4 separate regions of the Homo sapiens genome follow, and regions 1, 2 and 3 are each linked to region 4. Evidence: promoter capture Hi-C in 16 types of primary human blood cells and fetal thymus (Javierre and others, 2016). All regions are on one chromosome and are shown on one strand. Each heading gives the region's core, a stretch centred on a gene start or on the middle of the fragment in contact. The rest is flanking DNA. Distances are from core to core; before and after follow the strand shown.

Evidence for each region. The method cuts DNA at HindIII sites, captures the fragments that hold promoters and counts their contacts. A CHiCAGO score of 5 or more calls a contact.
Region 1: a fragment that was not itself captured here is called in contact with the fragment with the promoter of SEMA6A in region 4 in 1 of 17 cell types (megakaryocytes); the score reaches 6.2 in megakaryocytes.
Region 2: a contact is called between a fragment that was not itself captured here and the fragment with the promoter of SEMA6A in region 4, in 5 of 17 cell types (neutrophils, megakaryocytes, endothelial precursors and 2 more). The highest score is 8.0, in neutrophils.
Region 3: a contact is called between a fragment that was not itself captured here and the fragment with the promoter of SEMA6A in region 4, in 2 of 17 cell types (megakaryocytes and erythroblasts). The highest score is 7.1, in megakaryocytes.

Annotation. Positions count from the first base shown.
Region 1 is chr5:116,932,300-116,936,431 of GRCh38, reverse strand. All of the region lies in intron 1 of LOC105379137 (a long non-coding RNA gene), which reads left to right. Among named protein-coding and RNA genes, the nearest start is that of LINC02214, 170 kb to the right of the region's middle. The HindIII fragment of the contact is 1,022 bases long and covers 916-1,937 here.
Region 2 is chr5:116,131,229-116,135,075 of GRCh38, reverse strand. COMMD10 (COMM domain containing 10) reads right to left here. Exons shown (of 7, transcript NM_016144.4): 5 at 898-1,008. Among named protein-coding and RNA genes, the nearest start is that of COMMD10, 48 kb to the right of the region's middle. The HindIII fragment of the contact is 7,435 bases long and covers 1-3,847 here.
Region 3 is chr5:116,951,751-116,955,759 of GRCh38, reverse strand. LOC105379137 (a long non-coding RNA gene) reads left to right here and starts at 2,333. Exons shown (of 3, transcript XR_948694.3): 1 at 2,333-2,384. The HindIII fragment of the contact is 4,510 bases long and covers 310-4,009 here.
Region 4 is chr5:116,572,839-116,576,740 of GRCh38, reverse strand. It overlaps SEMA6A (semaphorin 6A), which reads left to right and starts at 1,918. Exons shown (of 19, transcript NM_020796.5): 1 at 1,918-2,556. It overlaps SEMA6A-AS2 (SEMA6A antisense RNA 2), which reads right to left and starts at 2,323. Exons shown (of 3, transcript NR_147170.1): 1 at 2,202-2,323. RefSeq lists a silencer at 2,083-2,162 and an enhancer at 3,860-3,902. The HindIII fragment of the contact is 8,307 bases long and covers 1-3,902 here.

The DNA.
Region 1 (4,132 bases), core at 177-2,676, 360 kb before region 4:
CCTCTTTGAACAATGGACCCAATTTTCTAGCTTTCCTTATTATCATTTTAGTCTCAGTAAAGCTAAATTGCTTGCATTTTCCCGAACGTACTAGGCTCTTTTTGCTCTTATCATTTTCTTTAACTTTGTTTTATGGATAACTCATACTCATCCTCTAACTCAAAATAAGTGAACATCTTGTGTACAATAAGAAGGTCTTATATAAGTGACCTTCTTACAACTCTAAGAAACCATCCCTAAAACCCACATAGATGTTCCACTTATTTATTACAGTGTAACAATTCCCCCCACTAACCCCACCCCTCAATGAAAAATTCAGTACCTTAAAACTAAATTGCTTTTATTATTTCTCATGGTTCTGTCAGTCGACTAGGCTCATGCAGGGTGTCCCATGAGGTTATAGTTAGATATTAGCTGGCAAAGCAGTCATGGAAACTCTTGACTGGGCTCAGTACCCAAAATGGACTGTTATTATGGCTGGCAGTTGATTCTGGCTATCTGTTGGGAGTTCAGCTGTGGCTACTGATAGGGGCACCTACACAAGGCTTCATCAGGTGGCTTTGGAGTTTCACATCCTGGCAGTGGATTACCCAGAGGAAACACTGCAAATATAAGTATTTCCAGATATGGGAAGTAGAAGCCGCTGGCACTGCACCATATGGTTAGGACCTGCAAACTGGCACAGCATTGCTTCTGCCACATTCTATTAATCAAAGTAGTCACAGAGCCCAACCAGAACTAAAGGACAGGGAACACAGACCCACCTCTCAATAGAGGAATGCCAAAGAACTTGTGGCTGTCTTTTAACTGTCACAATGGTCATATGTGCACTTTTGGACACCTGGATATACCTAGTTTAAAATTTTTAAATTGCAATATGTTGACACTGAAACACTTGGATTCTCACTCTAAGCTTCTTTAGTAAGTGGCAAGCACTGTGCTGAGTAGAAATTACATATCAAGTACATACACATAGATTGAATTAAATTAACATTAGTTTGGGAGAAATAATAAATATTTTGGAAGAGAGACTCAGGATTCAAAAATCTCTAGAGATGAGTATGAGCCAAAACCCATTTTAATTTATACTTCTAGAAAATTACGTACAGTTCTGGTAATAATGGCTTAAGAAAAAAATTGATTGAAGACTTGTAGAAAACACTAATTTTTAAATTACAAACACAATTTTTATAACTTTTTTTGCTTATATCTCTCTTTCCAGATGCAACAAACTCCCTTATTCCTCTTAGTTACCACATTTAACATGTCTAATGTGTTTCCCTCAAATTTCTTCTCACCCACGTATTATTTTCATGCATGCCCAACCAGGCTTCCACCAGCCAGCCTCTGCATCTTTAAAGAGTAGACGTGAGAACTACCAGAGAAAGTCCCTGTCCAATGACTAATGGATGTGGGGGCATAAATATCCCCTCTCCTTTACTCCTTGGCAGGATAATTCTAAGACTTGTTTTACACTACCTTTCTAGAGTTTCTCCATGCAATTATGCTACCCCACTGTGAGAGGTGGCCTAATAATTCACTTGTTATTTTCTCTTTCCTTCCCTACATCAATTCCCCTTGCCCAAGCTAGTGTTCCTTGACTCCCAAATAACTTCTGCACTCAAATTGTTGACTCAAGGTCTACTTCCAGGGGAACCGACACTAAAATAGTCAATGAGCAAACTCTTAAGAAAACAATACATATTTCTTATGGCTAAAGTTTTAGTGAGATACAAGACTAATCTGGCTCAAGTCTGTTCCTCAACAGATTTAAAAACAAAACGTATTTCATAAACAGATCACTACTTGTCACTTGTCAGGGTCAATATTTGTAAGTAACAGGCAGGATTTTAACCCAGTCCCTGAATGCTTACAGGTTCATAGGCTAAAGTAATCACCTAAAAATCAAACACAGATGAACCTAAAAAGGCAAAGCTTTTTTTTTCTTTTTAAAATAACATGACAAAAGTAAGTAAAAGAAAATGGTCCTCCAGAGACTCCAAGCTTTCTCATGACTGCCCTTACTAAAAAAGCTCCACGAGAACCCACACGGGGTTTGGGATGCCAGGGATGAAGGACGTGCCCTGAGGAAGTGGTTTGTGTGGGATGGTCAGACCATGGTGAATAGTATTTAACATGGTTGATATATATGTACCAGATAGTTCTTCAGCTATATAAGGATCTTGGGAATGAATGCTCAGTATGTCAAATTGATCTGTTTCTTTACTCAGTTCCAAGTGTCCATCCCATTTTTTTTTCTCACATACTTGTTGGAGAAAGGCCCGCTGCTCTGGTTTGAAGTATCGAAGGGGAATGAACATGAAGGCCATGGTAGGGACTGTCACCAAACCCTACTGGCTTCCTCTGTGCTAAATGTCCTTGCAGCCAGGCCACTCAGTCTCTGAACAGCACTGTCCTCCACCCCTAGTTTTACCTCCTGTATTCAGGATGCTTGGTAGGCAAGGATGCAGGGCAAGGGCACTAGTGGGAGAGGCCCACCTTACCCAGGACTGCCTCAGTAATCTGGATAGCAAAGGGCCTCACTCAGTGTTCTCTCACACTAGGCTTGGAAGCAGCCTAAGAGCAACTGACTCTTGTGGTCCAACAGCCACCATTTCCATTTCAGGCCCTTGTTCTAGAAGAGACAGTAATGGAAGAAGGAAAACCAGTTTATCCAAAAAGAGGTTGGCTCAAGGTCTCTATAGCCTAGTATGGAATCTCCTTGCCTCTTTGTTGTGGCCAATATCATCTTGGTCACGTCACTTAGTTGCTCTGAGCCTCAGGCTCTTATTTATTGTTTTGTATTTAAATTAGTTCACACTTAGCCTGATACCAGGCTTCTTGGTAAATGGTAAATATCATCTTCTCCTGAAATGTTTAGATAGCCTGCTCAAAATTCAGCTGGGCCTTGTCATACATTTATTAACTAGCTTTGCTCTCAATTCTAAAGCCCTGCCTGGGACTCAGGTGATTTCAGTAGAAGGGGTTTTATTTCTTTTACATTAGAAAATTCTAATGTCCAGGTCTCATCCCATATCAACTGAAATCGAATGTCTACAAAGGAAGTAAAACTTGTCAAGGTTCTCCAGGCGACTCAAATGCATGGGCAGGGTTGAGAACTCCTTAAAGTGATCTTACTTGGCCAAAACTAAGCTGAAATTTGTAGAGAGATACTGTCATTTCATGCAGAGGTGACTGGTCTGATAAAACTCTGAAAACTTTTTTCTCTGAGAAATGGTTGAAGGAAGTGAATATGTTTAACCTTGGGAAAGAGGTTGAGGGGGAGACTCAGGTGGGGACATGGAAACTTTCTTCAAACATTTGAAGAGGCCTAAGATAACTATTTTTAAATGAAATGATTAATCATCTTCTTTGTATTGCTCTGAGATGTAGAAGTTAACAGGTATGCAGATTTAATCTCAAGATAAGAAAGATCTTCTAGTAATTTCCCCAAAGAGAATGACTCTCTAAAACATAATGAGTTTCTAATCACTAGAAATGCTCAAGCGAGCCTAGATGATTATCTTCAGAAAGAGATTGGACTGATGATCTCAAAGGTTGCTTCTAATCTAAGATTTTATGAATTAAGATTAAGTAATTTTTATTCCCTTTTGTAATAGGTCTTCCCCCTCTCATGTGCCATGGCCAAAGGAATGCTTCCAAATGAAGCAAAGGGCTTTCAAAAGCCACTTGAAATAAGAGAGTAAAAATAAAACCAACGTAAGAAGTATTTGTTTCATTTAATTTGGCTTTAGTATTCATAGATTTCCAAGAGTTTTGACAAAATAATAAGATATTCTTCTTTAAAAAAAACTGTTCTTATCTCTCCGCCTGAATATTGCAGTTGTAGACTTTATGGAAACACATGGCTACATAAACCCTGTGCAACCTTGTCTTGTGAGCCAATTCCCATACCACACACGCACTTGATAGCATCTTTCTATTGAGAAGCTCACAAAAAGCAGACAAATGCAGGGTCAAAACCCTGAGATCACAGGCAATCATTTAGAGGGAAGGGATTAGGGATTCCCTGTCAGATGTCAGTCAACTCAGAAAAACCTTCAGAGAGTTTGACTTCTTCCAAGTGAAATATGTCAAATGCTTATTATTTTGATATTTACTATTATGCGGA
Region 2 (3,847 bases), core at 188-2,687, 440 kb after region 4:
GATAAAAAGCTCTTATCATATCTGAAAGATATATTTCCCTATATGCCGCAGTAACAAAAAGTATTTCATAGCAATGCTTTGATCTTTAATAATCACGTTCAAGTTGTTCTGAAATTAATAATAAAGTAAAATCCTGTGGTATAAAAAAAATTGTAGGCCGGGCGCGGTGGCTCACGCCTGTAATCCCAGCACTTTGGGAGGCTGAGGGGGGTGGATCACAAGGTCAGGGGATCGAGACCATCCTGGCTAACACGGTGAAACCCCATCTCTACTAAAAATACAAAAAATTAGCCGGACAAGGTGGCAGGCGCCTGTAGTCCCAGCTACTCGGGAGGCTGAGGCAGGAGAATGGCGTGAACCCCAGGGGGCGGAGCCTGCAGTGAGCCGAGATCGCGCCACTGCACTCCAACCTGGGCGACAGCAAGACACCGTCTCAAAAAAAATAAATAAATTGTATTTCTCAAAAGCTGGGATTTAAACACATGCAGGCATACTATACTACTACACACACAAAAACACAATTCAGGTCACCATCATATTTATTGTTCCAGGCTCTAGCTGGACAACAAACAATATTCTCTCTACCACATATATTCAGCTTAAAACATGAAACACTCAGGAATATCTGCAAATACCTAAAACATTAAAATCATAATTTTATATGGTCTTCAACAATTTTTTTTCACTGCAGAATTTAAAAGAAGACATTATGAAATGTTTTTGTAAGAAAGGCACCTTGCAAGATAAGCTATTTCTGTCAAAAAAGATCCACTTATTAATAACTGTTTAACTGAATTATGTTTAAATTCTAAATCCAGAGAGCAAAGACTGCTAAGAATAAAAAGTTTAAGTCCTAACAAACAAAATACATCCTTTTAATGGGATACCATTTCTTACCTTTGAATCTTCATTGTTCACTCCGAGTTGTAACACAGCTTGAGGAGATTTTAGTTTTGCTTGAGCAGAGTGAGCCATCTGAAGGTTAAGCTGCCATCCAACGGTCTCTAGCTATAAAAGACAGGTGCAGATTGGAATCAGATGGTACAGAAGGAAGAAAACAGTCAACTTTAAGCAAATCTCCACTCAGCAGGAATGTATATGGATAGCCTAGGCTTCACAGAAAGTCAGTTCCAGGGCTCTTTTAACCTGCATACTCTGCGAATTCTCCCTTTGGGCTTATTAGATTGGCCTCCTGCCACGCCTGTCAAATTTAACAGCAAAAGTCATCTTTAAATATACTCTATTCTAAAAATAAAAAATTCTAATACCAAGCAATGAAATATATTAAAAGAGCCAATGGTTTTTAAATATTAAATAGTAAATTACTATTTTAAAATAGTATTTTTTAAAACTAATGATTTTTAAATAGTTACAAATTTCAACTAGTAAATTGCATAAATTGGTGAAAAGCACTTTAATGACTTCCCACTATCTTCCAAAATCTTTGCGTAGGTACTATACAGGTAAGATTTGCTTTTTTTCTTTTTAATTTAGAGGGAAACTAAAGTATCCAGATGGTAAGAGGTTCACACCTTTAGACACAATGAGATTGAAACAGGCAGAGAATTGATATCTACTACCCAGCAAGTGTTACGCAACAGACTATCATACTTTCCAAGGTACTCTTACTATCGTTCCCAGTTATGACAGAAACTAATCAGAACATTTCCTTTGAATTTATTAGTTAATACAACAGCAAAATTTTAATCAAGTAAGACAAAAATAGTAAAGGAAGACTAAGGCAGAGTAACTTTTCTTATAAAGTATTGAGCACAGATGTGACTTTATACTGAACTTCACAGCTCTATGGTGCCTCCAGCTTCAGAAGTGTAAGGTTTTAGATTTAATTTCCTGTAAATCTCAAGTATCAATATTTAGGGAAGTTTTGTGAAATGCAATTGTCATATGCCTCTGAGAACATGACCCTAATAATAGATTTAGTAAAACTACCTTAGCAATACTGGGTAAGAATGGCAGGCTCACAATTTTTCCTTGACTAGAATACTAATCACTTAATTTGAAAGACTGTTCAACAGCTAGAATCACAGCAGTGACTCAAAGCCAAGTTGGAAAGACAGCAATGGAAGTATTATCTATTTGAGAGAGGATGTGATGAGAAAATAAAGATACAGTTCTGTTCCTTCTGGCACTAAGCCTTTTAGAGGTTATGGGTAAAAAGAAGGAAGATGTTGTAGAGATATAATCTATAATATCTCTATAATAACTAATAAAAAATCAATTTCATGGTACATGTTAAGTAAGGATTCTTTACATACTGATCTTTAACACTGATTACAGCAAGCATAGTCTCTGATACCAGCCTGCCACTATTATCAAGTCCCATGCAATAGACTCTCCAATAAAATAGGAATAAATGTCATAACCATTCTCATATATAAAAAAGCACTGGCATACATGCCGTCTTAATTGAAAAGCACTTTCTAGGTATTTATATAGACCTGTAAAATGTTGCATTTACCTTATTTAATTGATCCTATCCCTCTCCATTAGGCACTTAACATAACTAATGAAGAGAGATATCAAGTGAATAAATTAAAACTCACACCCCACTGTGATCAGGCCTTGATATTAACTAATGTATGCTTAGGCACTGCATAGAGATGATGCAGACAAATTAAAAAGAACCCTATATTTGAAGTTTATGATTTGGTTCATGCTTAAACTATCACCAGCTATGTGACCGTGGCTAAGCCACAATCTTTCAAGATCTCAATTTCCTCATATAAAATGGAAATAAATCCATCTGAACTACCTACTTTTCTGGGTTACTGATAATATCCAATAACATGCACACCTAAAGGATTTTGGAAACTATAAAGTATTATAAATATAAGGCATTTTGGTCACCTAATTTGTTCTACAGTATCTTCTAAATATTTTTCAAATATTTTCCAAAATTCATGACTCATTTCAGATTCTCATCATCCACATATTCCCAGACTATCACAATAGTCTTCTAACTGGGCTACCTGCCTCCTATAGAACCTCGTCCCATCATCCCACTTCCCTTCTTAAAATTCTCCAATAGCTCCTTACTACCTACAAAATAAAATCCAAACTCTATATACAAAACCCCTCAGGATGGGATAACAACCTTTCCACTCCTACGTTCTAAAACATATTACTAATTATCTATAATTTAGCCACAGTGAAACAAATAAGATTCCCAAAACATACTATGCTGTTTCACATGCCTCTTCTTTGACTCCAGTGTCACCTCCTCTGTTATTTTTTCCTTTCCCTTCCCTCTGTAGTCTGCTACTCTGTTCCCTCAGCACTCTGCATCTTTCTCTATTAACATTTAGATCAGTGTATTGCAATAATTTGTCTACATGTCTATCTCCTCAGAGTAGAGTGCAATCTCCATTAGGAGACAGCTGGAGTCTTATTCACCTTTATATCCTTGTGACCTACAACAGCCTCTGACAGAGTCAACACTAAAGATTCCTCTCAGACAAGTGATCAATCACATAACATATACAAACTTTCAAGGAGAAGTATTCACATGAAAATGAATGTATGAAAGAGGAAGAAAAAAAGTTGTATTTCCACTTGGCTATGGCTTTGGTAGGAGGCAGGACTGCAACCTATAGAGCTAATATTTGGTTGGTTCTTCACATACACATACATACATACATACATACATACACACATACACACACACACACATACCCCTCCCACCTGTCACACATACAATATTATCTGCAGGCCAAAGCATGTCCAGAAATCCTTTTTATAATGAGTAAACATTACCCTAGCTTTCATTTGGTTTGCTAAAGTAGCAGCTGAGTGTGGGCTGTGAAGTTCCATACTAATTGACCTTAAG
Region 3 (4,009 bases), core at 1,315-3,814, 380 kb before region 4:
CCACCGCACTCCAGCCTGGGTGACAGAGCGAGACTCTGTCAAACAAACAAAAAACCAAAAACAAAACAAAACCCACATTATTAACATAAATAAGATCATTAAAAAGCAAGGTAATTATCTTAATAATATAGTCTTGAAAACAACCTAAACATCTAAAATGGCAAGAGAACAAGGTTAACATGCTTTTTAGTGGTTACATTACTCTGAAAATAGCCTCAATTCTCTACTTCATTTTCAATGTGGATAGGCTGAATGCCCTTCTTACTAGAAGGAAGAGAGCACCTAAGGTACTGAGAGTTTCCAAAAGCTTTTTAATCATATTTAGCAGCTTCCTTAACTGTTCAGTGACCACATTAATGTGTTCTATCTAATATAGAACAGTCTTTCTCAGAGAGTGGCCCCTTGACAAGCAGCATTAGCCTCACCTGAGAAGTTGTTAGAAACACAAATTGTTGGATCCACTCCAAGCCTACTGAACCAGAAATTCGGTGATTGGGCACAGCAATCTGTGCTGGCATCCCAGTAATTGTGATGCACACTATAGTTTGAGAACAACCCATATACAAGTACACCTAAGTTTAGCTCTTCAATCAACTTCTTTAACTTAATATCCTAAGCTACTTCCATTCTTTTCAAAAAAATTCTGAATTATTTGGAGACAGTCAATGTACTTACTCCAAGCTCATGGCCCAGCAGAGTATAAATGGCACTAACACACTTGTATTGTTCTGATATTTCTTTAAAAAAGAGGAAATTTTTTATTTTCAGGTATAGCTTCAAGAAAAATGGATCTTTTCAACTTTTTGGAAATGAAGAGAAATTTTTACGGTGATGCAATTCAGCACACACTACCCCCAAAATGTGGCACCTTGGCATTTGAGAAAACAGAAGCAGGAATGTCACTTTCACCTTCCCTCATCCTTCTCTCCTGATGCAGGTCATAAATCCTAGAAAATATTCTCTGACCATACACTGAGGCAGGCCATAAGACCCTCACTTGAGAGGTGCCTTCCCTATACGCAGAGGAAAGTAACATCCTTATCTCTGAAGATAACAGGGTCACAAAGAAGAATCTGAACAAACAGTTCTTACTAAATTCGTCCTGATTTATTACCATTAAATCATACTTTTAAATCCAATTATCTTCTCTATTTCATCCACTTATTCCTCAAAGCTAGTATAAAAAATACACGGGTTCTTCCATTTCTTCTGGTCTTCATTTCCTTATGAAGGCTCCTATGTCATGTAAAACTTATATTATAAATAAATGTCATGCTTCCCTTTTGTTAATTTGTCTTTTGTTGTAGGGACCCATTCATAAATCTGGATGGGTTCAGAAAAGATATATCTCCTCCCCTACAATGAAGCGATATAAATGAATGCAAATAATGAATAAACTAGGTATTTCTTAATGAACTTCAGTGGCAGCAAGCAATATACACATTAAATAGCCTCCCAAAAAAGCAAAAACAGCTTAGTAAATTATCTCAGCAGCTTATTATCAGGCAGCAAAGAGGACCCAAAAAAGCATAAAACTATACACTGGGAACCTAACACATTGACAAAGCAGTAATGTTTAAAAAAAAAAAAAACAGCTGAGATGAAGATTATGAGAAAGTAGGTTGTAGAGCACAGAAAACAAACAAAAAAAGGAAAGGCATACAAAACTTGGAGAACAGTGGGCAAGAAGAGGCAAAGGAAATCCATACATAAAACAAAAAATGTGAGCATGAGAATTTGTAGAAAAGACCAGGGGCTTGATTTAACACTGAAGGAAACAGCTTTCAGGATTAGGAGTTCTTCAGCTAAGAGCTGGTTTACTTTTAATTGAGCCACACACAAACGAAGAGGTAAAAAGGTGCCAAAAGCTAGAGTCAATATAAAATGAAAGAATAAAGTAAGTACTTTTATTGTTAAATAAATGGCCCCTAACTAGGCCATTTTTGAAAATTTCTGTTTCACTCATGTGATACAAATAATTGAAACAGCATCTGTGGTTTCTTCCCTAAGCTCCGGACTCTCCTTCTCTGTGTCCCCCTTCCTTCTTTATCCCTTTCCCTTTCCATCTGCCTTCTTGATGAATTTCATTGTTATGGCTATTTGCCTACCATCACCATTTCTTTATTATTGTACCTTGTTTGTACAAAAGGAGTCCTTGCTGTTATTTTATTTTCATTAATGCCTCCATCTTGAAATTTTCAAAAATGCAGTTTTAAACAGAGGATGCTCCCAGATTTGCCCTTGCACCATGACAGAGAACATTTCAGCCCTAGCCAGTGGTGTGCCCATGGAAACTGGGAGTCATTGTATCCTAGGAAACTATGGCAACCAACAGAGACAAACTGAAAACAGCCCATTGTCATCATTTTTAACGAGTCAAAGATGTGAGTATCCTCTACAATGAATTCAACTGTCATTTGCCAAAGAGAAGATGCAATTCAAATTGGCTCCAATAATTAGAACAGATAAGTATTTGAAAGCATACATATATGATTGATTTTATTCCTATTGTTCTTTAACAATAAACACTTATTAAGTGTGTTCCACAAATAACTAGGAAAATCAACAGATATAATCAGCTCTTATGAGCAACTTCTTCCACATTATTATTAAATACGTTGCACTATCCGATGTTCTAGCGATTTATCTGCGTACACAGATAAGTGGTTGTTATCACAGCACAAAGATGCTCAGAGATAATCCTGATTTCTTCTGTGGTTTTGTGCATCAAAAATTACTTGAATAATGAATTTAGATTCTTACTGTTTAGTGTTGGTTTATCCACTTTGGGCTCCCAATTATATTGAGAATCTTCTTCAGACTCTACTAAATAGTTTAGCTGTCTAATCAAACCAAGTTAATGAGAGGCCATATAGGTCATCCATGTAGATATAGCAACTATTATTTTGACAAATGAGTTTACAGCATGAAAGAAGAACTCCCACTGCATTGCAGTTTGTTTGAGTTCATTTATTTTGCATATCCTGTGTAGTTTAATTCCAAAACTTTTCTCCCCAAGGAAATCTGGGTCATATCTTTCATTTTTCCTTACAAAAATAGAGCTGGGTAAAATAATGTTTACAAGAACTCTTCATGCATGTGTGTGTGTGTGTGTGTATGTGTGTGTGAATGTGTGTGTGAGTGTGCATACACATGCATATGTATTTATTATTTTGAATTTAAACTTTTTTTACATGTCAAATGATATTTATTAAAATTTAGTTGCTCCCAGAAAACAAAGGTTAGAGAATAGAGTGGCATATTGGTGACGGTGATTTGCAATCTTAAAAGTGTACCCCCACAAGTAAAGTGCTACACAAAGAAAAGAAGCAAAAGATTCTAGACAAGAAACAACTATTATTTGCAGAACTCATGCATTTGCTAAACTCTGGTCTGTTCCTTGGTTAAAGCAGGAAACCAGAAAAGTGAAACATATATTCTAAGTATTTCAACTTAAATATGTAAAACAAAGTAATTCACAAATATTTCGTTAAAGCCTTTTGTTTGATAATGAGTCCACTGATTAGTTTCCTACCGTCTTCTTGGAGTAATGCATTATCTATAATCCCAAATTTTAGTTCTTTAAAAAAATTGAAAACTCAATATTCTGTGGAACAATGTAAGTATAAAATCTTTACAGATTTTTACATATTTAAATCTTTCACCATTTTCTTGCTGACATCTATTTTGACAGCATTATTTATTAGCAAATTACTTTTCCAAATATGTATTTCACAGATGATATTTCCTTAATTCTAAATGTATTCATCCATTTACATAATATGCAATTAAATCATATAATTCTTAAAACAGCCAACTGGAATTAACAAATTTGGGAAACAAGCAAAGTGATTACTGGTAAGTATAATCAGAATTATACAGACATACTAGGGAGTGGCCTGTTATCCATGAACATTCAGAGTAGCATGAGAAATACTGTGTATGTTTTAGAGAAGAAATTAAGGTACAGATTGGTTGTGTTGAGACTAGTGAAAAGAGTTACTACTGT
Region 4 (3,902 bases), core at 669-3,168:
GCCTAATTCTGCCAATTTAAGAACTTTTCCCAGACACAATTAGCATGTAAATCGGCGGCGGGGAGCGAAGAAGGAGCCTCGGCGACCCCGGTTGGGTGGAGCGCGGGACAAAAAACCCCGGAGGCCGAAGGGTCCGGAGCTTCGAAGGGGCTGCAGTACCGCGCCTGGGGCGCACGGACGAGCCAGGGGACCAGCTCACACTGACCCTGCAGTCATCAGCCAAAATCTGGGTGTTAAATAGCGCAGCCGGGGATCCAGCCGTCTTGGCCGCCAGATCCTTCTCCTAACCCCGCGGGATTCTGAGGAGACGTCCTGGAGCCGGCCCCCACCCAACCCGCGGGAAAGCGCAATCCTACCCACCGCCCCACACTCCCCAACCCCCTCCCGAGGCTGGCTCTTGAAGCCGCGGGGGCTGCGCGCGCACCTAGGGCCGCGCCCCCCACTACCCCAGGTCTATAGAGGCCTTTGCCCGAGAAAGGTGGGGATAGCGGCCCCTGCTGACAGCTCTGGAGAACAGCAGGGGTACTGATTTTTTCTTTTTTTCCTACCATTCTCCCTACCTTTTCCAGGTGGTGGTAGTGGTGCGGGGGGAATGGGTGTTGACCCATGTGCATTTATTCTTCGTGAAGCCTCTTAAGCAGATGTCTGTACTTAGAGAAGCGACCAAAGAGGGAACGTGGACTTATTAGTGGTCTTAGTCCCAATTAGGGAACAGGTACAGTTTCCAATATAAAGAAACTCGGCCTAAGTGGGACTGAGACCCCGATCTCCGCACTTGCTTTTCTCAGCCAACTCCATGACTAGTAAATATCTCTCCGAGAACTGCTGGGCCGCCCGATGTTACTTTGTTTAAAGGTTGCGACTAGGATCCGTACCATCTGCGAAGCCCCCTTGGGGAGCAAGAGCCGCGGCGCGCAGTTGATTTCGGGGCGCAGCGGCAGGGGGAGGGGAACGTGGTGTGGCCCGACGAGTTGGCACAAGCCTGTAACTGCAAGACTTTGTAGCTATTGAAAGTTCAAGTGGTGAAAGAAGGCTGTGCCTGCCATTCTTCATGTGATCATAACAATAGCGCCTTGGAAGTGGTTGCGATTTTCTTCTTCCATAAACCTTTTGGGTTCTCACTGGAATTGTATGCGTGTTATTTCTGAAGTTTACTTATTTCTAAGACCAGTCCACAAAATGTGAACTTCATTAAGTTTTAAAATAGATCGCCGTCGTTAAAAACGCCATTCTCTGCACTGTAGTTTATTTGCTTACTTCACATGCTTTATTAACGTGTGTATGTGCGTAATTAATAGCTGTGTTCTTATCTTCCAAGTGTATTTTTAACCGCACCGGCTTCTATCCAATTCATCTAACTACGTAGAGCGTCCATCGCTTCTGGAATCTACCTCTTGATAACAGTAATCAGAATCAGAAAAGCTCGCCGTTCACTTACCCTCATCCTTTAAAACTTTTCCATTTAAGAAAATCGATGAACAAAACCTTTCTTGTAACTCGCTCCTGCACTACGTCTATTTTTATTTATTTTTCTGATTTGGCAGGACTCAGCAATGCTGTCCGGGATTTTTTTTTTCTTTTTTTTTTTCCTAGCTAGAGCAGATGTGGGGGTGGGGGAGGTGAGGGCTGGGCTCCAGCCAGAGTCGCCCCCGCTGAGCCTCCGCCTAGCGCGCGGTGGGGCCAGGAATCCTGGTGGAAGGAAGCGGCGCTGGCCAGTTGGTCCAAGGCTCCACCTGCAGCCACACCGCGTAGTTTCTCCGCCTCTGCCTCGCTCACTCGCACTCACATACACCACAGCTCTCCTTTGGGTCGGAGGAGACGCCAGCCAAAGTAGGCGGAGTTGCGGAAGGAGAGTCCGATCTGCGCAATCCAGTCCGGGACTTGGCTCCGCCCGGGAGCGGCGGCCTCTCCGGTGACAGAGGAGTAGTGAGCGGCACGGGGTGAGGCTGCAGCCAACTCCGCTCCCCGCGCACTCGGCTGCCCAGGCGCTCGGAACCCAGCAGCGGCGCTCCTCCGCGGTGCCGGTCGCCCGCGATGCCCGCTTAGCAGCGTGTAGCAGCGGCCAGCATCACCACACCCGCGGCACCGCGCTGCCGGCCGCAGAGCCGGGCCAGAGCCTTGCACCCCTGCCCCAGCCCCCACCCCGCCCCCCGCCCTGAAATGACTTGTTAATCGGCGCAGACACCACCAAGGGGACTCACCGAAGTGGAATCCAAGTGGAATTTGGATTTGGAGAAGAGTTTCTTGAACATTTACCCTCTTCCTTGTTGGTTTTCTTTTTCTTTTTCTTCTTTTTTTTTTTGGCTTCTTTTTTCCTCTCCCCTTCTCCGCTCGTCATTGGAGATGAACACATCGCGTTTGCATCCCAGAAAGTAGTCGCCGCGACTATTTCCCCCAAAGAGACAAGCACACATGTAGGAATGACAAAGGCTTGCGAAGGAGAGAGCGCAGCCCGCGGCCCGGAGAGATCCCCTCGATAATGGATTACTAAATGGGATACACGCTGTACCAGTTCGCTCCGAGCCCCGGCCGCCTGTCCGTCGATGCACCGAAAAGGTACGCCCCGGGCGCCCGGGCGCGCCCCACCTCCCGGGCAGCTGGACTCCAGCCTGAGGGTCCCGGGGCCGTGGCTAGCGCGTGCTGTCGGCTTTGTGGTGCCTGCGTTTTATTTTGTCTTGTGTCTCTGTTTCCCGAGCCTTGCCCGGTCCTGGGGGAGCAGCCGTGAGCCCTGCCTGCCTTTCCTCTCTGCCCTGCGCCCCAGAGTGCGTCCGGCTCCACGTCGAGAGCTTTCCCACCCGCGTTGCGCACACGCCCGGCGCCGCCCCGGGCCGCGACGGCGCGTATGGCTGTTCCTCCTGGGGGTGTGTGTGCGAGACCCAAGGCTCATCCTCCCGCGTGCCCAGCAGGGAGCAGAGCGGGCCCTAAATGGTGGGATTCTCGGAAGCTCCCTGGCCCGGTGTGTCGAAGGCAGGGGAAGGGGTTCTGCCCTCGAGGGCTGGAGGGGGTTGGGTATAACAGCGCTGTTTTCGTCCAGTGCCAGGTGGGAGAAGGGGTTCCGCGGAGACGGTGTGGAAGCGGAGAGAATCTTTTGTTGTCAGTGTGGGGTCTGGGCTGGGCTCCGTGGAGTGCAAGAAACTTGTAATGGCTCTAGGCACCCGCGCGCCCTGTCTCTCGGTGAGATCCTGGCTCCTGTGGCCGCTGCCACCAGAGGTTCCGGGCTTTGTTTGCTCGAATAAGTGTCCGGGAGCAGCCGTTCGGGTGACGCGGCGCCCCCGCCATGGGTCCTGTCCCCCGCCGCAGCTCCCAACCCGAGCGGCAAGGATATAGCCCGTCGCGGCTGCGTCCCTCCTGAAGCACCGAGCCCTTTGCACCGGGCTGGCGCACGGTACGCCCTCCTCCCAGATCAGCGCGGTCTCGCTCTGGAAAGATGACCCAGGAGGGGGAAGGGTGAGAGACCTGGCAGAAGATGGCCCTGGGTTTGAAACCCAGACTAGGGCTCTGTTCCGACTCCTCACTGTGTCCTAGGGCGCTACCATGGGGGCAATGGGGCGCTGGAGAGTAAGCCGGGCAGTGCCCACCCACCCTGCCTGATCCTTCTGGGGCGGGAAGTGTCTCTTGTCCCGATTCTCCGCGTTTTGCTCAGCTCCTCGCTGTGGGAGATGGTGCAAAACAGGATCCTGAGGTCTCCTCCCTCCTCGCAAGACCCGAGCGGCACGGGGGGAGCCAGGGAGCGGTCCCGGGCTTGTGGACGTCGGGAAAGGAAACAGAATTCCGCTGTTTTTCCCGCTCCCTCGCCGCCCCTCCGCCCAGCGCCTCCTCCCACTTTACAGCGGCGGGGTCACTAGACCAGGCGCTCCTGGAAAGTTTCCCTGAAAGCCAGGGGCGGCAGGCACGACCGGACT